Regions from separate parts of the Homo sapiens genome. Here all the other regions are linked to region 1. Evidence: promoter capture Hi-C in 16 types of primary human blood cells and fetal thymus (Javierre and others, 2016). All regions are on one chromosome and are shown on one strand. Each heading gives the region's core, a stretch centred on a gene start or on the middle of the fragment in contact. The rest is flanking DNA. Distances are from core to core; before and after follow the strand shown. Region 1 holds the start of KCNA10 (potassium voltage-gated channel subfamily A member 10). Region 2 has its middle 12 kb from the start of UBL4B. Region 3 holds the start of SLC6A17 (solute carrier family 6 member 17). Region 4 holds the start of SLC6A17-AS1 (SLC6A17 antisense RNA 1). Region 5 has its middle 3.0 kb from the start of CD53. Region 6 overlaps SLC6A17 (solute carrier family 6 member 17).

Region 1 (4,135 bases), core at 684-3,183:
AATATGCTGTTTGACCTTGGCACTGTCTGCCACCTCCTCACCATCAGACCCTCATCAAACACCCTCCTACCTGTCACTTGACCTGGGGGTGGAAGTGACAAAGAGGAACCTAGGAGGCAGGGAGAAGGGAAATGGCCTGGCTCCCAAAAAAGGAAGTTAATTATTTGGCCAAAGAAGCTCTCCCTAATCCCCAAATGCTTTCTGCTGCTGGCCTCCAGAGAAGTTCCTGATAAGGGTCACTCTAGCCTTGGCTAGAACCATGGAAGTGGTTCCCAAACCTTGCCCAAAGCTCACTGATGGTACTCATTCCTCTCAGAAAGCGGGACTGATTCACACCTGGAAGATAATCATCAGGGAGCACCATCTGCGGTCCAAGACCCCAAAGGAGAAAATGGTGCTCCGAAGACATGAGATCAACACAGAGCTGGAGTCCCCCACCCACAGCCATCCAGCTGCCAAGCAGTTCAGGACAAGGCCCCCAAATCATCATGCGAATTACTGTGAAGCTACATTTCTCCAGGGCTTTACCATGTACAGAGCCAGGATTTGAACTCGGGTGGACTGATTCTATTCTCAGATTCCATCCTGCCTCCCAGCCATCCTACTGCTCACCGAGCCTTGCAGAGCAGGCTGGCACCTGGCATGCTTGGCAGTGGGTACATCCTTCCTCATTCCACAACTGAGGAAGCAGCAGCTCCGTGAAATTAGGCCGTTTGCAATGGCCACATACTCCTGAGAGGTAGAATGGGTACTCTACCAGTGCTGACCAACCAGACTTGAGCTCATCATTCAACACATGGCACCTGAACTGAGAAAAGGGGTCATGGGATGGAAAGAGCTCTGGACCCCTGACAATTCTGTGGCCCTAGCCTACAGCTCCCCACAAGGCTCAGCTCCTATATAGGGACTCCATGGTCTAGTGGGAAAGGCCCTGGGCCAGAAGGCCATGGCCAGGTTTAGGTCAGGACTCTGTAGCACTAGTTATGTGACCTTAGGAAGTCACTTTGTCCCTGTGACTTGGTTTCCGCATCTGCAAAACAGAGATAACATCTAACCTCACGTGATTATTGTCATCTAGTGAGATAAGTGAATGTGGAATCACTTTGAAAAGACTACAACACTACACTGCAGGATAGCCTTGTCGCCTGTAAAGGAAACCTCTCCAAGGCTGTGACCACTACAGATTTTGCCTGAGGTTAAGTCCCTTACTTCTCTCCCACTCCCACCCCCAGCCTGCCTGGGTTCAGTGTTCTTAAATTGAAACTGAAGCTAGAATGAACCTGAGGAAAGAAATATTAGTCTATGTGTATAGATGTCCAAGCCCACTGGGCATGATTTCCTAACCCCACCTCCAGCGTGCGCGCGCACACACACACACACACACACACATATACACACACACACACAGACACACACAATTATTTACTTCCTTCCCACCTAAAATGATTTCTCAAAATGAAATTACTTCCTATGGACACCTTGGACTCAGGCCAAAAAAAATTCCAATTGCTGGTAGTTTCTAAAGTGCTTGTTATGTGGGAAAGTTGACAAAAAACAATAGCTATAATATAGTGATCTTTCTTTCCACCAAGCATTCCATACGTGTTATCTCATTTGAGGTACCTTCAAAACAACTCTAGGAGTTATTTCCAGGTGAGGGGTCATTTAGAGGACATTGTCGATTGGCCAACCCAGCGTCTTGTTTTTCCTTCCCTAAAGAATCCCCATTGGGTTCATAGATCTGGTTCCACCCTTCACCACTTGGTCCAGAAGCAGGGGTGGAAGTGATGCAAAATGGTTGAATTCTAGATATATTTTGAAGACATGACCAAAAGGATGTGTGAGGGACTGGCTGTTGGTGTGAAAGAGAGGCATTACGAATGAGATTGGGCATGGAGACGTGTTTGGTGAGACAGAAGGCTTCATGCAAATACAAGATCATGCTTTTTATTATTAAGGAATGTTAACTTCCTCTTTTAGTATGGCCCCTCTGCCATCACATATGGAGACCATCCTTTGCTGGGGAGAATCTCCCCTTCTTTGCCAGGATCCTTTTTTTGCAATTTCTCCTAGTTATTAGTTTATGCAAACTCAGGGGTACAAAATGATTTTAAGGGAAGCATGCTGCCAAAATAACCATGACGTTCCTTCCCAAGCTACAAATAAGTCATTGATTAGCCCATTGGTGTACCTTACCTCAATAAACAAGGGCCAGTTGTATTCTGCCCTGGATCTTGTATAATGAACTTCTTCTTCTCCATAGCTCACAGCAGGCAGTGAAGGCTGAGGATCTTCATGCTTCTTCCCTGGCTCCCCTAGAATGGATGTGTGTGGCTGGAAAGAAATGGAGGTTGCGCTGGTCAATTTTGATAATTCAGATGAAATCCAAGAAGAGCCAGGCTATGCCACAGACTTCGACTCAACCAGCCCAAAAGGCCGGCCTGGGGGCAGCTCCTTCTCCAACGGGAAGATCCTCATCAGCGAAAGCACCAACCATGAGACGGCCTTCTCCAAGCTTCCGGGAGACTATGCTGACCCCCCAGGGCCTGAGCCAGTGGTCCTAAATGAAGGAAACCAGCGGGTGATCATCAACATTGCTGGGCTGAGATTTGAGACCCAGCTCAGAACCCTTAGTCAGTTCCCAGAGACTCTCCTGGGAGACCGGGAAAAAAGGATGCAGTTCTTTGACTCCATGAGAAATGAGTATTTCTTTGATCGGAACCGGCCCAGTTTTGATGGAATCCTATATTATTACCAATCTGGTGGGAAAATTCGGCGCCCAGCCAATGTTCCCATTGATATCTTTGCTGATGAAATCTCCTTCTATGAGCTGGGTAGTGAGGCCATGGACCAGTTCCGGGAGGATGAAGGCTTCATCAAAGACCCTGAAACACTGCTACCCACCAATGACATCCACCGTCAGTTCTGGCTCCTCTTTGAGTACCCTGAAAGTTCCAGCGCTGCCCGTGCTGTGGCCGTGGTCTCGGTGTTGGTTGTGGTCATCTCCATCACCATCTTCTGCCTGGAGACACTGCCAGAGTTCCGGGAGGATAGGGAGCTAAAGGTGGTCAGAGACCCCAATCTCAACATGAGCAAGACAGTCCTCTCCCAGACCATGTTCACCGACCCTTTCTTCATGGTGGAGTCTACCTGCATCGTGTGGTTCACCTTCGAGCTGGTGCTCCGGTTCGTGGTCTGCCCCAGCAAGACTGACTTCTTCAGGAACATCATGAACATCATTGACATCATCTCCATTATCCCCTACTTTGCAACTCTCATCACAGAGCTAGTCCAGGAGACAGAGCCGAGTGCCCAACAGAACATGTCCCTGGCCATCCTGAGGATCATCCGCCTGGTGAGGGTCTTCCGCATCTTCAAGCTCTCGCGCCACTCCAAGGGGCTGCAGATCCTCGGGCAAACACTGAAGGCGTCCATGCGGGAGTTGGGGTTGCTCATCTTCTTTCTCTTCATTGGAGTCATCCTCTTCTCCAGTGCAGTCTACTTTGCTGAGGTGGATGAGCCAGAGTCCCATTTCTCTAGCATTCCTGATGGCTTCTGGTGGGCAGTGGTCACCATGACAACTGTAGGCTATGGGGACATGTGCCCGACCACCCCAGGGGGGAAGATTGTGGGCACTCTGTGTGCCATTGCAGGGGTCCTCACCATTGCCCTCCCTGTGCCTGTCATTGTCTCCAACTTCAATTACTTCTACCACCGGGAGACTGAGAATGAAGAAAAGCAGAACATCCCAGGAGAAATTGAAAGAATCCTCAACAGTGTAGGCTCAAGAATGGGCAGCACAGACTCTCTTAATAAGACCAATGGTGGCTGTTCCACAGAGAAGTCTAGGAAATGATCAGTCCAGGGCTTCTTGGGTCCATCCTGTCTCTCTTCTCTCTTCTCTCTCTCTCTCTCTCGCTTTCTCCCCTCCTCTCTCTCTTCCTTCTGCCTTCCCTTCCTCCCTTCATTCCTTCCTCTTTCCCTCTCCCTTCTCTCATTTCATCTTTCCAAAGATCAAAATGTATCTTTTGTGATCAATAACTATCTTTGACTACAAGCTATTTTAATAAGCCCATACTTCTACTGTATTTTCTAAACTGTTTCTTTTCAATACATTATAGAAAGATTTGGATCT
Region 2 (4,135 bases), core at 676-3,175, 390 kb after region 1:
CATAATGTGGCCCTGTGTTTGTGCCAGGCCAGCAGACAGACAGCAAGGGCTCCACAAACAATGTAGACATGTGGGCAGAGGCAGGGCTTGCCCTGCCATAGCCTGTGCATCTCTCTGGCACCACTGCAGGGGCTTCCACAGGGGTTCCTCCACCAGGCACACCTGATTCCTTGTTCCCCAATGCCTCCTACCACTCTGTGTCCCAGGAGAGGCACCCTGTATCTGTCAGAGGTCCACAGAGAAGCAGAGCCAGTAGGAGATGTATATGGATTTGTTGCAGGAAATTGGCTTATGCAAGTGAGGAGCTGGCTACACAGGTGGTCAGGAAGGGAAAGTCATGGCAGGCTGAATCGCACAGGCATGAGTCCCTCTCAGGGAAGGGCTAAGCCTTAAAGGGCTTCCAACTGACTGAGTCAGGCCCACCCAGGATAATCTCCCTAATTTAAAGTCAACTGATTAGGGACTGTAATTACATGTGCAAAATCCCTTTACAGCAGCACCTAAATTAGTGTTTGACTGAATAAGAGAAAGAAGGGGAGTATATGTGACAAAATGGCCCTGCCTCCTTCTGTCCTCCAACTTTCATGAGAGACTATCGCCTGTGGCCTACCCTATCTGGAAGCACACTGGAGAATGAATTCTGGATAATGTAATTTTGCCCGGCCAAGCTAACACACTGCGAAGCCTTCACATACTTCACTGGCTTAAATCTGCACAAGAGCACAGTAGCCACACTGCACGACAACCTACAGGCATAGCTTACATTGTCTTGCACCATCCTCATGACAGATCTTTGAAGGGAATTTAATTATTTCATTTTAGTGGTGACTTAACCTCACACACAGCTGCTAAGTGGCAGAGCTGGGATCTGAATCTGTGTTTACCTGACTCATTCAGGTCCTCAATGGGGTGTGAGTCTGATAATGAGAGGGAAGAGAAAAGAGCTTTGGTTTCTGGCTGTACTCCAGAAAAGGCCAGAGGAATAGAGACCTAGGTTTCCAAGGCCTAAATTTTGGTTTTGCTGGGACTTCGTTCTGGATGATAACAAGATAGGGTATCATGAGTAAGAGATTTTGCTCTCCAACATACGGTGTTTAAAAGGTCTCGTTTCTTTGTCCAGATTAAATGTAATCTGCTCCAAAACTCCATCCTACCAGCCCAGAGGGAAATTCAATTTGCCATATTAAAGCTTCCTTGCCCATGCACCATCAGAGGCAAGCAAAGACTCTGGGGTCTCCCACATTGCAGAACATTTAGAGGAGAGTCTGCTGGTCTTCACACATTCTGTCTACACAGGTATGCTCATTGACCAATTCTCATGATTCAGGAAGGGTGATGGGTCCCTGCTTCTAGGCCAATTTGGGGAAGGGTCTCTGCTTAGAGTCAACCTTCTCAGGGTACCCTGCAGCCATTGTCCTAAGGCTCTGTCACCTCCCTGGGGTCCCATAGGGAAGGATGGCTCCAGTCTCATCTATCGTGGACCCCCCACCCCCAACACATCTCTTTAGTCTGCTTTCCTTCCAACTTTCCTCCCACTGCCCCCTTCTCCAAGATAATCCAACACAATCTCATCAATGAACCTAGAATTTGACAAAACAAAAGCCAACAATGTGTGAGAATAGTCTTCTGAGTGATTAACAATTGATACTTTTGGCTCTACCACCCCAAACAGTAGCAACAGTAAAGTTTACTGTACACTGTACTTTTACTATGTTCTAAGCTCTTCATTTGTGATCATTCATTTAATCCTGTCTATAAGTCACTAAGGTAATAGATGCTACTTATCTCAGTCTGGATGATAACAAGGTAGGGTATATGAGTTGTCTCAGTCTGTGTTGCTATACAAGGAATGCCTGAGGCTGGGTAATTTATAAAAAAAATAGGGTTTATTTGGCTCATGGTTCTGCAAGCTGTACAAGAAGCATGGTGCTGGCATTTACATCTGGTGTGGGCCTCAAGCTACTTCCACTCATGTTGGGATCCCTGCCTGGAGTGTGCAGGGATCACACAGCAAGACAGCAAAATCACAAAAGAAATGAGGAAGGTGCCAGGCTCTTTTAAACAACCAGCTCTCATGGAACTAATAGAGTGAGAACTCACTCATTACCATGAGGATGGCATCAAGCCATTTGTGCAGGATCCATCCCAATGACCCAAACACCTCCCATTAGGCCCCCCCTCCAACACTGGGGATCAAATTTCAACATGAGGTTTGGTGGGGTCAAATATCCACGTGAGGTTTGGTGGGGTCAAATATCCAGACCATAGCACCATATGATTAGCTACTTTGGTTAAGGTAACATGCCCAATGTCAGCCCAGCTCACAAGTGGCTCCTAGCATTCTAACTCAAGGACCTATGCCCTAACTGCTACTCTGTGCCATCTCTCACCAAAATCTGGTATAAGGCAAGGCTGCACAAAGGACTGGTTGTAGCCCTGAGCTGGGGAAGAGATGATTAGTTATAAAAGTGAGATCAAGCCACAAACTAAAGTTGCAATAAATTGTTCCACCTATGTGGGTGGGGAGTAGGGAATGGAAGTAAAGGATTCGGATACTGGATCTGCTATGTACCAGCTCTATGACCTTGGGAACTCACTTAACCTGAGTTTCAATCTCCTCAAATATAAAATGGGGATGATAATGACAACTTTTCAAGCTTATTGAGAGGACTAAAAGAGAAAAAGTATGTGAGAGCTCTTCATACCCTCTACACCTGTGAAGATATTACATGTTAAGGACATTGAGCAGAACGTCTGCCTCGACAATGCCTGGGTTTAATAACCTCCACTTTGGCAGTCAACAACAAAAGAATGCCCAGTGGCAAGGGCAGGTCCCTCTGCTGGGAGCTGGAGAACCAAGGAAAAAGCTATCTTAGAGACAAAGACAGAGTTTGTTTCCTGCACTAAAGAGACTGGAAAGTGTGTAACCACATTTGCCAGACTCCTTTGCAGCTAGGGTTCATGTGAGACCCAGTTCCACTAAGAGAATCCCCACATGAACCTGGGGAGGGGATGGAGAGAGGAGCTATAGAGTTAAAAAAAAAATGTAAAGCAGTGGTAGGCCAAGGGGATTAAGTCCCCTGGGCCAGCTGTGGGGGTTTCTAGCATGTCTTCCCTGAGGAGTGGACAGCAGAGCGGTATTTCCACCAGATCTGTCCTGTGAGATGCTCAGGTATTTCTCCTGACTGTGATCTTCTGGGCCATGTAGTGTCTTGGCCCTCTCCAAGATTCTATGTAATATCCTCTAATAAATTCCTTTCTGCTTAAATCAGCCAGAGTGAAATCTGTTGTCCCCAATTTAGAACAGTAACTCATACCAGAAGAGATTCTAAGCAAGAAACCCTCAAGGAAATGAGAATCTGGGACTGGTTTTCTGAACACGTTGCATTTTGAGGCAACAGGGAGCTGGTCGGCATCAGAGGACAGGCTGCTGGTGGTGGGTGGCTCACTGTGATGAAACAGTTACTGACGGGCCTGAGGCTGTGCAGCATGGCAGCTGTCAGAGGCAAGGCTTCAGCAAACTGAGCAGCACTGAGGTAAAGCTTGTCAAAATCTTGTGTTATCAAACATTTCAAACACACACAAAAATAGAGTAGTATGAACAACCCTATGCACCTTGTACCCAGCTTCTAAGGTCACTCCATGGCTCCAGAAACTGCCTCTGTCCCACTTCACCAGATTATTCTGAAGCAAATCTTATGTACCATTTCATCCAAAAATATTTCACTGTGCATTTCTAAAAGATGACTTTTTAAAACCATAACGACAATACTATCATCACACATTTAAAAAATGCATACTAACATTTACTAGCATCAAATATCAAATTGATGTTCAGATTTCCCTGATTGTCTTGCTTTTTTTTAAACAGGTTGTTCAAATCAGAATGAAGATAACTCCACACATTGCAATTAGTTGTTATGTCTGTTCAATTTCTTTTAGTCTATAGAATCCTCTCCCTCTCTGTCTCTCTGTCTCTCTCTCTCTCTCTCTTTTTCTCCCTATAGCAATTGATTTGATGAAGAAACTGGGTCATTTGTTCCACAGGAGAAATTTCCCACAGCCCAACCCCCTTTCCAGCTTGTTGGAAAGTTAGAAGTTACATTTCCAGGACTCCCTTTCAGCTAGGGTTCAT
Region 3 (4,135 bases), core at 1,139-3,638, 370 kb after region 1:
AGAAAGAATTGCCTCTGGTTAAGGCCCATAAGGGAAGGGATGGGGAACTAACATCTAATGAGCACCTGCTGTGTCTAGCACCTGGCTCAAAATAAGCCTGCAGAAATAATATCATAGGCATCCCTGTTTTACAACTGAGGAAACTCTGAGACTCCCGAGGTGAATTGACTTGCCCAAGGTCACCCCACTGGCACATGGCAGAACACTGGGCCCAGTTCTGACCACAATCACAGAGCCTTTCCTTACCCTCCCCTTCACCTCTCCCCATCTCCCTGCCCAGCCCAGCCTGGCCCTGCTCACCTTCCCAAGGAGTCAGAGCTCCAGGACCCTTGCTCAACAGCCAGAGCTCTGCTTAGCTCCTTCAGAGGACTTGCCCACCTCTGCCCAAAACACTTGGGCTCAGGCCATTCCTGCTCACGAGTCCTGCTAAAGAACTCCAATCAACTCACAAACAGCTGACACACGACTCTGTGTGTGACTCAGGCCAAACAAACTCACTCCAATCAGAGCTGGTGGGCACCATTTGCCTCCTGCACTGAGTCACCCTCCAGGCTGAGCTTCAGGGATTCGCTGAAACTCAACCACCTACTTAGCCACAGATGTTCCATTGGAGAAAAATCCGGCAGTGGAGCTAAAGCCTCTGACGGTCCTCGTGGATGAGCCATGGCCAAGGACAATCAGGTGTGACCTCAAAGCTCTTCCTGCCCAGGTGATGGGTCCGCCTCACAGAGCCATGGGATAATGTAAGCACAGAACGAGACACAAGAACTCCCCACTGTTAACCTCAACACACTCTGACCTTGTTCTCCAGACATCAGTGAGCGTGTCCAGCAAGGCCTTAACAGTTAGGCGCTAACTAAAGTTTTGGCCGAATTTTTTTGGAGCCATTACAGGATTGTCTTTGTTCCTGAAGTTCCTGTTAACAAGGACAATGCCCGGAAAAGAATCTTCCTCCTCATTACCACTTCCCTGTCTCCCCAACCCACCCCCATCTGCCTCAAGTTCACAGCTGAATTGCCCAAAGGTAGCTCTGGTTAGAAATCTCGTAATCCAAAAGGCCTGTTAAAGTATTTCTTAAAAAAAAAAAGGAAAGAGGAATGGCATCAAAAAATATTTTCTAAAGCCAACTTGACAGGGCCTAGGTCCTGTAAGGTGAATGGCCTTGGGATTTCTGAATTTGATTTCTGACAGGGCTGTCTGGGCTTTAAAAGGAAACATCACGCTTCTTTCCAAGGCAGCCGCGCCCCTGGGGAGCGGCCCACCCATAGTACTGCGAGCATCCAGCATCGCTTCAGAGCACGGCGCACACAGGCATAAATGCAGCAGAGGCCTCTCGACCCGCCAGGACGGCGCCCCCTCCAGATGGGCACCACACGCACGTCCCCTGTCTCAGCCATTCCGTTCCCCAGATGCGCTTCCCACGAGGGAGGAAGGGCTCTCTGCTAGCTCCGAATCCAGCGAGGACCAGCCCCAGGACTGAGAATTAAATATTCATCTCGGGCGTGACAGTTCTGCTTCGCTTGCCAATGTTACTGTCAAGGTCACAGGCCTGAGGCCGAGCGGCTGGGGCTGGGGTCTCCAGCTGCGTAAGAGGCTCCCAGTGGAACTGCGCCCTGGGCGCGCAGTTTCAAGCCGCGGATGGGCCGGACAGGCCCCCTCCGGTTCTCCGCGGGCGCTTGCCTCCGCAGCTAAGCCCAATTTCCTCCGGAGTTCTTGGGCCCTTCTGAGCACCAGAAGCTGAAGCCCGGTGTCCAACCCGTGCGTACGCCGCTGGGGACCCCGATGCGCGAAGGAGAGCGGGCCCCGGGGCTCCGTCGCCAGGCAACGGCGGCTGGAGCGGCGAGAGGAGCCCGGGACGAGCGCAGGGTCGGGCGGATGCGGGGGCAGCGCCGCCTCACACCTTGGTCCTCAGCCCTCCCTGGCTGGGGCGGGGCCAGAACAGGGAAAGTTGCAGTGGCCGGCCCGGTAAAGCCAGGCGGGGCGCGGCCAGCGACTCACCTGTCACGCGTGGGTAGTCGCGCAGACTCGGCCCGTGCACTCCGGCCGAGCAGCTGCGATCCCCGACGGGTCGCGGACGCACAGCTCCTCCCCCGGGCCACAGGCCCCCGGCTGGGGCTGGGGCGACCCGGAGCTGCGCGCCGGCGCACGCGACTCCGCTCGCTCCTCACTCCCTGCCTCACCACCAGTCCCAACCTGGCTCCCGCCCGCCGCGCGCTCGGGGCTCAGGGGAGCGGCGCGGGGACCCAGGTCCCACGGCGGAGAGAGCGCGCGGGATTGCGAAGACTGGGGCCGAGTGCCGCCCTCCCTGCGCCCTGGCAGCGCCGGCTCTGCGGAGCAGAACGGAGCTGGGCGGAGCGCTGCGCGCACTGTTCCCTCGCTTTCCGAAAGGCCACCCTGGCGGCGGGGCGCCGTGACGCAGGCTTGACTCACGCGCGGGCCGGCGTCAATGCGAGGCTCTCGGGCAGCGAGCGAGGCTCTGATGGCCGACGTAGGCGGAGAGGGTGGGCGTGGGGCGGGAGAGGGAGTTGCAAGGGGGCTTAGCTTCTTGAGGCCCCTGGTCAGGGGATGCAGACCCTGGAGCCCTCGCCAGGGCTTCTGCCCTCGGAGAGGAATGGGGCCCCAATGGTTAAAGCCCTCCTGGACCCTGGGCCTCACTTTCTTCTTTTCAGACTCACCTCTTTTGGCCTTCTTTAATGAACTCAATCTCAATTCATGTGGTTATTTCCCCTGCCCTAGACATTTCCACCTCCGTGCTTCTGTTCCCTTTCCTCTAGATGTCCTTCCACTCCTCCGTCCTTCCATCCTACCATTCTGCAAGGCCGTTCCCTGTGCAGGTCAACTCTTAGGACATCACTCATCTGTTGAGCACCTACTGTATGCCAGGGGCTGCAGAGGCTGAAAGGATCACAGACGTGAGGGAACCTCCTGGAGAGGCAGTGTGGGTTGACCCAGGTCTTTACAGTACAAAGCGAAAGGATTGGAGAACCGTACAAGATGAGTAAAGTGGGGAGACAGTGACAGGGAAATTCTGACTGGTCTCTGAGTAGGCCTCTTGGAAGATCCTGGCCTAAAGGATGGACAGTCAGAAGGGGAGAAGGATGACCCCTGTGGAGTGGACAGCATGGCAAGGGCATAGATGCAAGAGAGTAGAAACGTATGCGTGGGGTGGGGTGGTGGTTGCCTGAGCTGGAGCAGGGGTGGGGATGATGAGAGGTGAAGTTAGACAGGGAGGCAGGAGCCATCCTGCCAGGGCCTTGGGGGGCTGTTATGAGAGTCTGGATGAATTATCTCTCTTCTAGGGAACACTAAGGGGGCCTTTGGCATCCAAGGGAGGTGTTTGGGAGGAATGGGAGATGGAGGTTGTCTTAGTGAAAGGTGGTAAGGGCCATTGTCAAGAACTCTGAAGAGTCTGAGATTTTACACTTACAATCTAAGTTACCCTGCCAGTTTCATGGATGCCATCAGAAGACAGGAAACTCTGGGCCAGACACAAAGGACTTTAATTACTCATGGCACAGCAGGCTGCAAGAGCTTCACATTCAGATCACCTTCCCTTAACTCTGAAGTCCTATGGGTGGGACATGAGACTGGACCACACACACTGAGAAACTCCAAGCTTAGGAAACCTCAATCTTTTATAATGCGCTGCAAGCAAACTTGCCCGACATTTGCCTTAGACATATCTTTATTATACTGGACAGCAAACAGAACTGCTCTCCACTAGAGGGAGACGCTATCGTTGGAGGCTGTTTGCTATGCAACCATCCTCTAAAAGATAATGGGAACAAAAAAGCCATCAGTGCCTCTGCCCACAAGACTTGTGGGAACACAATAAACCCATAGAGAATTATCTCCTGATAGAAAAATTCTTTCAACAATTATTTAGTGAGCCTAATGGTTACTTTACACTGTTCCAGGCCCTAAGGAGACAGCAAAAAATGAGACAGATAATAATCTCTGCCCTTATAGGGTTTACATTCTGGTGGAAGCAACCAGGGAAGCAGATGGGGTGGAGTGGCATGGCAGGAAGTAGCAAGAGACAGGACAGAGATGAACAAATAGAATGTGACAATTGACGTGGTATGGGAGGTGGGAGGAAGGAACCTATCAGAGATAGGCAGTATTAAGGCAAGAG
Region 4 (4,135 bases), core at 748-3,247, 350 kb after region 1:
TCCTCTAGGGTAGTTCTTTATGTCTGGTGCCATGGTGATTGGTGTCACTGTGAACAATCAGACTGTGGCAAGAACACTGCCCTGGGTGTGAGTGCTTGTGTGTGGCATAGAAAGGGATTCTGGAATTCATCACCAAGTGCCCAGGCAGAACTGATCATCTAAGCTAGAAAGAACAAGGTTAGAAGTTCCCAGCTAAGTCCTCCAATGCCACACGTCCTTTGAAGTCATTTTGGTTGCCTTGGAGCTCTTCTCAACATCTCACAGGGCATAAAGAAACCATATACTTGTATATCTTTGCTTTGGGCTAGTCTTACATCAACTCAGTTACCATGCCATGCAGGCCACAAGCTCTGATTGACAGTTACTTATTAAAAAGTAAAAAAGATCTTTCAAGCAAGGAGACCATGCAGCTAATATAACATGCTATGGGGGAAAGATGGAAGCCTTTGGCCTAATTCAATCACAAGAGTTCAGGTGGGCATTCTCACTCCCTGCCCTTCAAAAGAAACTGGAAAGGAGAAGCCTCCCAGCCAAATGTGGCCTTCTAAACTAGGGAAAGATGCATCCTGGAGAGGAGGGGACTGCGTCTTTGGAAAAGGTTACATGGCAAGAGTTCCACAAGCAAGGAAGGAAGGACTGGGGTAAAATGCCTGCCAAGCTGGGGCCACCCAACAGGCTGGAGCATGCCATGCCAGGCACAGGGACTCAGGAGCACAAGAGCTCTTGCTAGTTGACTTTCCCAGGACCAGAGGTCTGGGCTTGCAAAACTCTTTGTTTCCAGCCTATTGGGGTTTTCTTTATTTTTAGTTAGTTGATCTCTGGTTTCAGGGAAAGCTGCCTTTGGACAATTCCTGGGGGCTGGAAGTGGTGGTAGTGGTTTGATACCAGGGGCAACATCCTCAAGAGGGATTCAAGCCTAGGGGGCAGTGTGAAGGCCCCTCCTACCCGGAAGCAATAGGTGTGGAGGCTAAGTGCCCAGGCTCTGGGCAAGCCTGTCCAGGTTTGCATCCTGACTTTATCACTAGCTGTAACCTTGATCACCCACAACCTTGAACAAGTTATCTAACCAATTTGTGCCTCAGTATTGTAGTCTGTAAAACAAGGATGATAACAACTCCTTCATATAAGGCTGTTGGGAGGATTCGATGGTTGAATCACATAAAATTGGTGCTTTGTTGTTCTAAGATGCTCAAATATCAGCAGTTTCAGGCACTTAGCCCTAATATCCATTAAGCCCTTAGAACAGTGCCTAGTACCTCATAAGCATTTAGTAATAATGGCCAACAGGTGCTCCTTACCGTGTCAGGTAGCGTGTTGCCCATTCTGCACGTAAAGCTCATTTAATCTTCCCAACTATCCTATGAGGCAGGAGCTACTATTATTTTCATTTTGCAGATGAGGCACAGAGAGGTTAAGCAATTTGTAGTAGGTCCCAAAGTTGATTGGCAGGGCTGGAATCTGAACCCAGGCAGTCTGGGGCCAGAGCCCACTTTCTTATCATGTCCTGTAGTCTCTTGGTAGCTACTAACCATCATTATAGCTATTCCTGGGCTGTCTTACTCTGGAATCCTGAGCTCCAACCTACAAGGGCTCCAGTTCTGCCTCAGCAAAGGGGTGTTCTTTTTTACCCCTCATCCCCGGCCTATTTGCAGGGGACCCCTGATGCAGGCAGAGCTGTCTCTTACCTCCTCCATTTTTCTGGCACAGGTAGGGGAACCTCCAGATGTTGCCGAGGCCCACAGAGAAGCCAATCTGGGCCAGGATGTACTGCAGCTTACTGTTCCAGGCCGGCCGGTCCTCTGCATCCAGCTCCTCCTCCACCGCCTTCTGCTTGCCGCCTGCCTCACCAGCCACATTCAGTACACTCTGCTTATAGTCCACAGGCTCCTCGAGGGCCAGCAGGTCGGCCACGGACTCAGTGACATGCTCACTGCTGTGCTCACGCTGGGTCACTTTGCTGTTCTTCGGCATTGATGCCACCTGGGCCGTGTAGCCCTGCTCCCCAGCACACAGAGAAGATGGAATTCAGCTGCTGTCAGCTCCTTCTCATTCAGGGACCTAGGAAACCAGGTGAGCAGTAAAGGATTATCTGACCACACCAGGAAGGTGAGGAGCCCAACGTGGACACAACCCAAATTAACTCCCCATCACACTGTGAGGCAGGTCAAGGGCCTCATATATGCAGCTTGCCCTAGCTCCCCATCAGGGGCTGCCCGGTGAGGAGCTCAAGGCCTACAGACTCAGTTTCTCCAGAGGCTTGACCCGAGCATTATTTGAAAAGTAAACCTAAAGGGGCAAAATAGGCAAAGCCATACTCCGAACCCAAGTAGAGCATTATCCGTGAAGACATTTCCCTCTTCCATACTGCAGAGCTTAGAGTGCTCAAGCCCCTTTGGAGGCCCATACAGCCTTCCCCTTCCAGGTGTTCTGCTTAGCCAAAACCACATGGCGGAAGCCACGGAAGCCAGCGCCTTCCTTCCTTAGGGCCTTTTCATTCAAAATGCAGGGATTGCACCAGGAACTGGTTAGAAAGGGGCATCTTAGGCTCGCACCAGACCTCCTGAATCAATCTCTGCCTTTTTACAGGATCCCCAGGTGATTTAAAAAAAAAAAAAAGGCTCTTGAGCCATCACCAGGGGGCCCCTGGACACCAGTGCCGATGGCATCTCCATTCCCCTAGCTGGACTGGTTGACCAGGCTCAGCTAAAGATTCTGGCACCAGAAGCCAAGGGCTGTTTGCTCAGTGCCAATGAATCTTGGGTCATTGCTCAGCACTGACATTATCTGAGGACTTCTGCAGCCAAGAGCTGGTTCTCCATCCTTCAGCGACAGTTTTACAGCAGATAATGTCTGCACGACATGGGCGGAGGAGGCAAAACCCTCCCCTACTCCTGCCAGTCCTCATTTGTCTTTCATGCTTTCCCTTAAAGAAATAAAGCACCAAGAAAACGAAGCCTTTGAAGAATTCCACCATTCCGTTATATTTCAAGGCACCCCCTCATTAAGGGAAGGTTGGAGGATTTAAAATTAAACACACACACCCCAGCCTGCGGTTGCCCTGCATCTTTCTAGGGATGTAACTTACCCAGCTCTGTAATTACTTTATTAAGGGAAAGAGCTGTCTCTGGAAGCTGGGCTCCGTTTGTTCTCCTCGTAGGTACGTGCCACCTGAATGGCACAGGCAAGGCTGCTGTGCAGTTCAAGGGCCAGGCCCGTCCTTCCTGCCAGCCTTGACCCAGACATCCTGGCTGACCCCAGCCAAGGCCTGACCATCAAGGAGACCTGCCAGCCAGGCCCTGTTACACATGTAATGAAACTGGGAGGTTTATGGGGTTGGCTAGCCCTCCGTAGGCCAGGTCTTGGACCACATTAGCAGGTGACACCTGCTGCCCTCCTCTTCCAAGGGAACAGTGAGTCTTTAGTGACTGCCCCCTCACACCTCAAGCATAGACAGGGTTAGGCTTTGGGGTAACTATGACAGGGCCAGCCTGGTTAGAGGACCACAGAATTCCCTATAAGAAGCTCTCTGCTGGGACTCACTTCCCAGTGGGTCAGTTGAACACCCCATTGCATCCTAAAAGGTGCCCCACGGGTGGCACTTGTGCATCTGTGGAACTTTCAGCCCTGGGCCTCCCCCCAGGGCTGCCGTGTTGCCTGTGCTACACAAGTGAAGTACGGCCCTAGGAGTTACGCAACGGAGAGGCCTGTGTCCTTGCCTGGGCTGCCAGGGCGAGCTCCTCTCCTCACTCAGCAGGTCCCCGTCTGCAGGGCATGCAAACAGAGAAACGGCTGCCTGTCAAGGCATCTCCCCGTCCCCTACAGCTTACATACAGAGCTGTTACTAAAGATGAGATCTGGGAAGAAGGGTGGGGGTCCCTCTGGAGCCTGCAATCACTAGAGTTCCTTGGCTCAGAGCCTGTCTCCAGCCACTCTGCCTGCAGCAGGGTTTGATCAGAGCAGTGCATTAGGTATGATTTACTGATCATCAAGCCACAACTAGAGAAAACCAAGGGAGTTTCCTGCAAGTCTGCAGAATTTATCTTGCTGCTGACCAATTGGAGCACATGTTTCTCCATAAATAGCCTAGTGAGTGGCAGCTTCGGTCACCAAGATGAGAAAGGGCTGGGAGGAAAAA
Region 5 (4,135 bases), core at 1,135-3,634, 350 kb before region 1:
GTGACAACCCAAATGTATCACTAGCTAACTATGAAACTTGGAAGCAATCACTGGGCCCCAATGTTTTCATCTTATAAATGAACAGATAGATGCACTCTGCGGTGCTGACTTGCGGGCATGCCTCTGGGAAAGCTAGCTGTCTCCCGCTTCCTTCACCCTGAGACATTCAGATCCAGAGTAATCTCCAGCCAGGGCTGTCTTGTGGGGAAAACTGAATTAAATGAAGGTAAAAAGGTCTTTACTGCAGAACTTGTCAGTCCTTAATATTCTCTAAGCAGGGGAAATAATATATAGATTTCTCCAAACTTATCTGAGCATGGAACTGTGTGGTGTGTGTGTGTGTGTGTGTGTGTGTGTGTGTGTAGTTTCTCTTGGGGAACAATTTTTCAGTGTAACTACACTTTAGGGAATGCTATTAAAAAGTCTCTGCACCTCGGCTGGAATCACTGACCCTCACTCAGAGCTGCTGCCATGCTTACAGGTCCCTGAAGTGGTGGGGCTGAGGAGAGGCTTCTGGCTGAACTCATATTTTCCTAATTATCTCACCCATTCTGATGGCTCTAATTACTATCTGTCTGTTCCAAAGATTCACAAATCTATATAGATGCCATGATCTCTCCTTTGAGCTCCACTCTCTCCCAGGCACCTCAAATCCAATATCCAACTTCAGTTTGATTAACTTGGCATCCCCACACTCAAGCCTGCTCCTCCCACCATGTCCACCATCCAGGAAAGGCCTGACTGGCCTTTCAGCCACGTTCATGAGAAACCAGGTGTCCTCTTAAGCTACTCTCTCTCCCACACCACCACCTATTATCAGCCACCAAGTCCTGTCAGTTATGCTTTTGCCTAAATATTTCTCAAACCAGACCACCTCTCTCCAACCCCATAGAAATTACATTAGTCTTTATCTTTTACCTGTGTTACAGGATCCCAGTGTCCTTCAAGACCACCTTGGATGTTTCTTCAGTCTGTCCTCAGGAAGAAGGGAGGAGAGCCTTCTAAAATGCAAATTTAATCACATGACTCCCCAGCTTAAAACTCTCAGCCGGCTATTTCTTCCCCGGCCCCACCCCCAAGATCTCCTCACACTGGGTAACACTGGATATGGAATTCCTTTTAGTTGCTTAAACAAATCAATCTAGTTCTGTCTCACGAGCTCTCTCTAGAATATCCTCTCACCTGTTCACTTAATTCCTTACTCATCCCCCATCATAGCACCAGAAAGCCCTCCAGGCAGGAACAGTTACTCCTGCTCTCTGCTCCCATTGCCCACAGGCATTCCTCCACCCTCTGTCATTCCTTGTTTTTCATTGTTTTCCCCACTAGACTGAAAGCTCTGTAGGTTCTGTGTTACTCTGTGTATGTTGGGTGATCTTGCTCATGACTGTATTTTTAGTGCCTGGTATTGGGTCTGGCACATAAGAGGTGTTCTATAAATATTTGAATAGTTTCAGGTAATGTGAGGCCTGCAAGTTAGGGGAACCAGAAATTTGGGACAGGCAGAGAGAGTAAGGAGAAGAAAGAGATAGGTAGACTGAACATCTGCAGAGAGAGAAGTGATAAATAAGGGGGAATCTTAGGAATATCGGGAAGACTATCTCAAGACAAATTGTTCACAGCAAAATAGGTGACCATTTTAATGCAGAACATTTTTCCTTGAATGTGCCTCTTTCCATCATTTCACTGGGAAGGGTTGTTCCAAGTGCCGGACAACTAGAGGTGGCTGTTTCCTGGGTTTAGGGGTTTGGTAGAGAACAACGTGCCCACTTATACCCATACCTATAAAATTTTATTGAGAATTAATTCTGTTTCTGACCATCAGATATTTAGAATTCATTTGGAGGGACAAGAACAAAAACAAATAGAGAATAAGACAATATCAGGAAACCCCATGTTATTGAATAACCCAAAAGAACGCTCAAAAACTTTGAAAAAACTAAATTAGAAAAGGCATTTAGCAGAAGCTCAGACTCATGGCTTGGTCTTCTCAATACGGGGTATATTGATCACCATCATAGATGATAATAGAATCTGAGAGTTTAGGAAACTTGAACTTGGCCAGACGAATAGCGGGAATACAAATTATGAGTACTCTACTACTGTGCAGTCGTATTTGCCAAAATACATTCTGAATAGACAAATACTCACATAGACATTTTGTATTTAGCCCCCATTTAGGCCTTTTTCAAAAGCCTTCTAAGTGAGTAGTTCTGTTTTATTATTGGAAGATAATCACTGTTGAAATATGAGAATACAGATAGAACTTCCAAGTTTATTTCAGAGTTATTTAAGTATATAAGGATATTAGAGTTTAAGAGGCATAGATTTTGTGAGAATTATAAGATTGGAAACTTCAAATGGGAGATTAAAGTTAACTAGTAGTACATTGGATTTTGCTTATGGGCTCTAAGAGTAAAGTTTTGAAGAAAATGCTGTAGAACATCATTCTTAACTTTCATTTTAGGTTCAAACGTACATATGCAGGCTTATTATATAGGTAAATTGCATGTGACAGGGTTTTGGTGTACAGATTATTTCATCACCCAGGGGGTAAGTATAGTGACCAACAGGTAGTTTTTTAATCCTCTCCCTCCTTCCCCGCTCCACCCTCAAGTAGGCCCTAGTGTCTGTTTTTCCCTTCTTTGCGTCCATGTGTACTCAGTGTTGAGTTCCCACTTATAAGTGAGAATATGCAATATTTGGTTTTCTCTTCCTGCATTAAATTGCTTAGGATAAGGCCCTCCACCTGCATCCATGTTGCTGCAAAGAACATCATCTCATTCTTTCTTATGACTGCATAGTATTCCATGGTGTATATGTACCACATTTTCTTTATCCAGTCTATCATTGATGGGCATTTAGATTGATTCCGTGTCTTTGTTATTGTAAAGAGTGCTATGATGAACATACACATGCGTGTGTCTTTATGATAGAACAATTTGTATTCCTTTAGATATGTACCCAGTAATGGGATTGCTGGGTCAAAAGGCAGTTCTGTTTTATGTTCTTTGAGAAATTTCCAAACTGTTTTCCACACTGGCTAATCTAATTTACATTCCCACCAACAGCGTATAAGCATTCTCTTTACTCTGAAACCTCGCCAACACCTGTTATTTTTTGGCTTTTTAATAATAGGCATTTTGACTGGTGTGAGATGGTATCTCATTGTGGTTTTGATTTGCATTTTTCTAATAATTAGCGATGCTGAGTATTTTTTCATATGCCTGTTGGCTACATGTGTGACTTCCTTTGACAAATGTCTATTCATGTCCTTTGCTCACTTTTTAATGGAGTTGTTTGGTTTTTGCTTGTTAATTAGTTTAACCTTCTTATAGATTTGGATATTAGACCTTTGTCAGATACATAGTTTGCAGATATTTCCTCCCATGCTCCAGGCTGTCTATTTACTCTGTTGATAGTTTCCCTTTCTGTTCAGAAGCTCTTTGGTTTAATTAGGCCTTATTTATCAATTCTTGTTTTTGTCACAATTGCTTTTGGCATCTTCATCATCAAGTCTTTACCAGGGCCTTTGTCCAGAATGGTATTTCCTAGGTTATTTCCCAGGGTTTTTAAAGTTTTAGGTTTCAGATTTAAAATTTAATCCATCTTGAGTTGATTTTGGTATATGGTATAAGGAAGGGGTCCAGTTTCAATCTTCTGCATATGGATAGCCAGTTAGCCCAGTACCATTTATTGAGTATGGAGTCCTTTCCATATTGCTTGTTTTTGTCAGCTTTGTTGAAGATCAGATGGTTGTAGGTGTGCAGCATTATTTCTGGGCTCTCTATTCTGTTCCATTGGTCTATGCATCTGTTTCTGTATCAGTACCATGCTGTTTTGGTTATGATAGCCTTGTAGTATAGTTCAAAGTCAGGTAACATGATGCTTCCAGCTTTGTTCTTTTTGCTTAGGATTATCTTGGCTATTTGTTTTTAGCTCCATATGAATTTTAAAATAGTTTTTTTCTAGTCCTGTGAAGAATAGTGTTGGTAGTTTGATAGGATTAGCATAGTATCTGCAAATTGCTTTGGGCAGTATGGGCATTTTAACAATATTGACTCTTCCAATTTATGAGCATGGAATGTTTCCCATTTGTTTCTGTCATCTCTAATTTCTTTGAGCAATGTTTTGT
Region 6 (4,135 bases), core at 1,157-3,656, 330 kb after region 1:
AAGTGGCAGTTGTTGTCCTGCTTATTGTAGCTGGAGAAGGCAATGACACCACCAAAGCCCAGGCCCAAGGCAAAGAAGACCTGGGTAGCTGCCTCCCGCCACACCTGGGGGTCCAGCATCTTGTCCAGCTATGGCAGAAGACCAAGGCAGGAGGAAGAAAAGAGACACAGAGGGGATGGTTTTATTCATGTGCACACCCCCTTTCTCAGCCTCAACAGAGTTCAGAGGCAGCAGCCCATAGTGGTAAGAAGCTGTGTGAACTTGGGCAATTTCCCTACTCCTCTGAGCCTCAGTTTCCCCAATACGCAGATCACAAGAGTATCAACTTCAGAGGATGACTGTGAGGACTTGGTAAGACAACATAAATGCTGAGTGCTTACATAGTAATTTAACTGCTACCATGGCTTCCCATGCAGCCATCATACTAAGGAACATCGTCAAGGCCATCACATATGGTCATGTAGTACACAGCTCTAGAGAGTGCCATTCACTTGGACTACAGTGTGACAGGTGCCTCCTAGAGTCCTGCAGTGAACAGCTTGCACAGCAGCACAAGAAAACTGAGAATACCAGAATCTCCCTGACGCCTTCTCCACCTCAAACTCCTCTACCTCATGAAAGGAAAAAAAACCCAAACCGCCTGCTTTTCCCCACCATCACCCAACCTGAAGCACAGAACCTAGACAATTCCTGGAGAAAGGGCCTCCGCCTAAGCTTCCATCTGCCCTCACACCTGACAGGAGCCCGAACTGCAACAGCATTGGGATGGCATGGAGCAATTTCCAAAGCCCCTTTCCAACCTATTTTCCTTTTATTGTTTGTTCCTTGGGGCAGGGACCAAGCCTTGGACCCAGCACAGAGCTTTAGAGTCTCAGACAGATCCAGATCCAAATCCTGACTCCCATCTTTAAATGGCTATGAAGCTTTTGGTAAGTGGCACTGACTGTGTTATGAGCTTCAGATTACTCATCTGAAGAAAAGGGAATAGTAATAGAGTCTCGGAGTGAACGTGAGGATCAAATGTATAGCAACAAGTAATGCCTGTACGTAGTGGCACTCAATCCCAACAGAATGAGGCTGACCTCGTCAGGACAGGGTGTTTTGTGTTTTGCGGGGGTGCAGGAAGCAAGGATTACTATTCATGTTTTTAAAGGGTAAACTGAGACCCCAAAGATGAAATGACTTGCTCAAGGTAATGGAGCTGGTTAGTCGGGGCAGAGTGATAACTAAAATATAGATATTCTGGGCCAGGCCCCCGCCCCCGGCCCCAGCACCAACTCCTGACTCAGTTTTTCTATCACCTATACTCTTTAAAGCATTTTCCCCTGTGACCTTTGCTGCTGAGGTGAACCTAAGTGACCTCACTCCAGACAGACTAAGGAGGCAAGGAGCCAATTCAGAGAGTTCACTTCCCTGTGGTGACAAGCCCTGTGTGGGTCCTGGCCCGGCTGCCCCTTCTGAGTACCTGTGGGTAAGTCCTCACCTGAACAGTGAGGTGTTGGACTCTAGGGTCCGTCTGGACTTTAGCTGTCTTTAATATCACAGCCCTAAATAACATCCAGGACACAGGGCCCACCTGCCATCATCTCAGCAGCTTCCTAGGCATGTCTCAACTCCTGGCAGCACTCCAACAGCTGAGATGTTGGCAAGCTCAGAGCGCTGGCAGAGCAGTGAGGCTGAGGGCGGCACCCCCATGCTGAGGGGAAAGAGGTGGGGGATGGTAGTCGAGCCTTTGAGCTTCAGGGCCTGGGCACAAATGGAGACCCAGGAGGACTGCCTGGTCAGACAGCATGTGTACTCCAGGGGAGATTAAGGTCCCCCATCCAGCACAAAATAAGTAAAACCATCTTTAGTCCACCAAGAAAGCCCAGAACCCAGGCCTTAAGGATCTAAGGGCCCCTTGGCATCTATGAGGAGACCCTCTCCCCAGCCCACCCCTGTGTACTTATTAGGTATAAGGTGTCAAGGCCTCCCTGTGGCAATGACATGTAGCCACTCATCCATCAATCTCTGAGCACCTGCTGTGGGCCAGGCCTGGTGCTAGGCGATGCAGAGGCCATGGGGAATAGAAGCAATCAGGCTCTCCAAGTTTACATTCTAGTTGGAGAGAGACACATTGGTCAAATGATCCCACGAACAAATGCTAAATTGCAAATGTGACAAGGGCTGTGAAGGCTGGGCACCCAGTGCTTGGAGAGCCCATAAGAAGGGGATCTGAACAAGTTGGGAGGCCAGGCAAGGCTTCCCAGAAGAAGGGGTCCTCAAGCTGACATTTGAAAGCTGATGAAAGCGAGGCCACAAGGGGAGGGAAGAACATTCGGGAAGAAGCATGGACAGAGGTCCTGAGATAGGACAGAGGATGGTGTGTAAAAGGGAATGGAAGGTGCCAGGGTGGCTGAAGCAGTGAGGACGAGGTGGGGGTGGCACAGGTAGGGCTGGGAGAGGAGAGAAGTTAGATCAAAGGCCTGTACAGATCCTGTCTTCACCCTAAGAAAGCACCTAACCCAAGAAGCCACCGAGGGGTTTAAAGAAGTGGGGACACAATCATGTGCATTTCCAAAAGAAATAAGTGGATTCAGCAGACCTTCGAGGAAGCGGCTTCTGGGGTCCAGGCTGGAGGGGACAGTGGCTTTGCTAAGGGGCTGGGTGGTGCCAATGGAGAGATCTTCGCAGGACAAACCAAGGAGACCTTCGGGATGGACTGGAGATGGGAGATGCTGGAGAGGGAGAGGCCGAGGTGAGGGCCATGTCTCTGGCCTGCATACCTGAGCAGGTGGAGATGGGGACAGTGGGAGAGGAACAGGTTGATGGTGTTGGGCAGGGAGGATCAGGACATTAGTTCTACAAAGGTTGAGCTGAATGTGTCTTTAAGACATCTAAAATGAAATGCCAAGTGGTCCGCTGGACAGATGAGCCTGGAGCCAGAGAGAGACAAGCTGGAGATAGACTTTCTGAGTAGCAGGTGTGCTGGCAGGAGCTGAGGCTGTGGCTGTAGTTACAGAGGGATAAGAAGCAAAAGCCTGCTCCTATCTCCAACACTGAATGCAGGGAAGAGGGAGAGTCTCCTGAAAGGGAGTCAGAGAAGGAGAAGCAGCAGAGGCAAGAGGAAAACCCAGAGCCTGGAGGAGGAAGGGTCAGTGCTGCCAGTGAAAGACCCTGAGGGAGTCCACGCAGGAGGCCACAGGGGGCTTCAGAGGCTTCCTCGGAGTTGCTCCCTGGCAAGAAGCCAGGGGAAGTGAAGAAAAGAGAGAGGCAGAGGGGAGGAAATGGAGGCAATGTGGGTAAGCAGGTCCTCGGAGAAGCAAGCCTCGGATCAGGAGAAGGGCAGTATCCGGAGAAGGCTATGAAATCAACAAAGGGTTGCATTTTTATATGTTGTCTTGATTTCTTTTTTGTTTTTGTTTTCAATGGAGTGTCTTGAAAAGCTGGAGGGTAGGGATCGGGATGGGGTGGGAAGCTGTCCTCCATAGGACCACCCTTGGGCTGCTCATTTGAGAGAGGAGGGAGGGAGGACAGGATGGGGCAGCTGCAGGCAGGTTTTATGGTCGGTTTCTGTCTCTGTCATCTGAGGGAGTTTCTTGGCAGCTTCTGTTTTCCCTGTAAAGCAGGAGGCAAAATCATCTGCTGGGGATGAGTATGCCGGAAGGAAGGTCAGAGGGTGTGAAGGATTGGAAGGGTTTAAAATAGCCACAGCGGAGCATGGGAGAGCCAGGTGACCAGAGAAACAGGGCAGGGCTGTCCTGTACTGCTGGGGGCCCACCCCCTTGCATAGGCGGATGTCTGGTTTTTAAAGTAAGATGAAATGTTACCTTCTTTACAAATGTAATACAGGCCCACGGTTCCTTATCTAAAAGCCCTGGGGGCTGACTGGTTTTGGAATACAAGCTTTTGTTTCTAATTTAATTTTAGAAAGGTAATGTGATGCATATGCTACTTAATTACATATCACCCCCAGCAGGGTCTGGGGCAGCACCCTGTAATCAAACACGTTAGTATTTCTGCAGCAAAATATGAATATTCACACCAAGTGAATCAATAAAGACTATAAATAGCCTCACATCTGTGCAGGTCATTTTGCTTCCAAGTGAGTTCTGGAGGATCAAAACCAAACCAAACCAATTTTTGTTTTTCATGG

What was found. The method cuts DNA at HindIII sites, captures the fragments that hold promoters and counts their contacts. A CHiCAGO score of 5 or more calls a contact.
Region 2: a contact is called between a fragment that was not itself captured here and the fragment with the promoter of KCNA10 in region 1, in 1 of 17 cell types (neutrophils). The highest score is 5.3, in neutrophils.
Region 3: the fragment with the promoter of SLC6A17 here is called in contact with the fragment with the promoter of KCNA10 in region 1 in 1 of 17 cell types (neutrophils); the score reaches 5.9 in neutrophils.
Region 4: a contact is called between a fragment that was not itself captured here and the fragment with the promoter of KCNA10 in region 1, in 1 of 17 cell types (neutrophils). The highest score is 8.3, in neutrophils.
Region 5: a contact is called between a fragment that was not itself captured here and the fragment with the promoter of KCNA10 in region 1, in 1 of 17 cell types (M1 macrophages). The highest score is 5.0, in M1 macrophages.
Region 6: a contact is called between a fragment that was not itself captured here and the fragment with the promoter of KCNA10 in region 1, in 1 of 17 cell types (neutrophils). The highest score is 8.6, in neutrophils.

What each region holds. Positions count from the first base shown.
Region 1 is chr1:110,516,973-110,521,107 of GRCh38, reverse strand. KCNA10 (potassium voltage-gated channel subfamily A member 10) reads left to right here and starts at 1,933. Exons shown (of 1, transcript NM_005549.2): 1 at 1,933-3,891. The coding sequence starts at 2,321. The coding sequence ends at 3,856. The HindIII fragment of the contact is 5,009 bases long and covers 1-2,517 here.
Region 2 is chr1:110,122,634-110,126,768 of GRCh38, reverse strand. No RefSeq gene overlaps it. Among named protein-coding and RNA genes, the nearest start is that of UBL4B, 12 kb to the right of the region's middle. The HindIII fragment of the contact is 1,468 bases long and covers 1,192-2,659 here.
Region 3 is chr1:110,148,747-110,152,881 of GRCh38, reverse strand. It overlaps SLC6A17 (solute carrier family 6 member 17), which reads right to left and starts at 2,388. Exons shown (of 12, transcript NM_001010898.4): 1 at 1,999-2,388. RefSeq lists an enhancer at 421-715 and a silencer at 2,344-2,393. The HindIII fragment of the contact is 4,529 bases long and covers 1-3,618 here.
Region 4 is chr1:110,164,766-110,168,900 of GRCh38, reverse strand. It overlaps SLC6A17 (solute carrier family 6 member 17), which reads right to left. Exons shown (of 12, transcript NM_001010898.4): 2 at 1,686-2,058. The coding sequence starts at 1,971. SLC6A17-AS1 (SLC6A17 antisense RNA 1) reads left to right here and starts at 50. Exons shown (of 3, transcript NR_183667.1): 1 at 50-474; 2 at 1,708-2,070; 3 at 2,587-2,953. The HindIII fragment of the contact is 4,912 bases long and covers 1-4,135 here.
Region 5 is chr1:110,868,043-110,872,177 of GRCh38, reverse strand. It overlaps a transcript of CD53 not described here. Among named protein-coding and RNA genes, the nearest start is that of CD53, 3.0 kb to the left of the region's middle. The HindIII fragment of the contact is 6,424 bases long and covers 1-4,135 here.
Region 6 is chr1:110,187,965-110,192,099 of GRCh38, reverse strand. SLC6A17 (solute carrier family 6 member 17) reads right to left here. Exons shown (of 12, transcript NM_001010898.4): 7 at 1-128. Among named protein-coding and RNA genes, the nearest start is that of KCNC4-DT, 20 kb to the left of the region's middle. The HindIII fragment of the contact is 2,962 bases long and covers 926-3,887 here.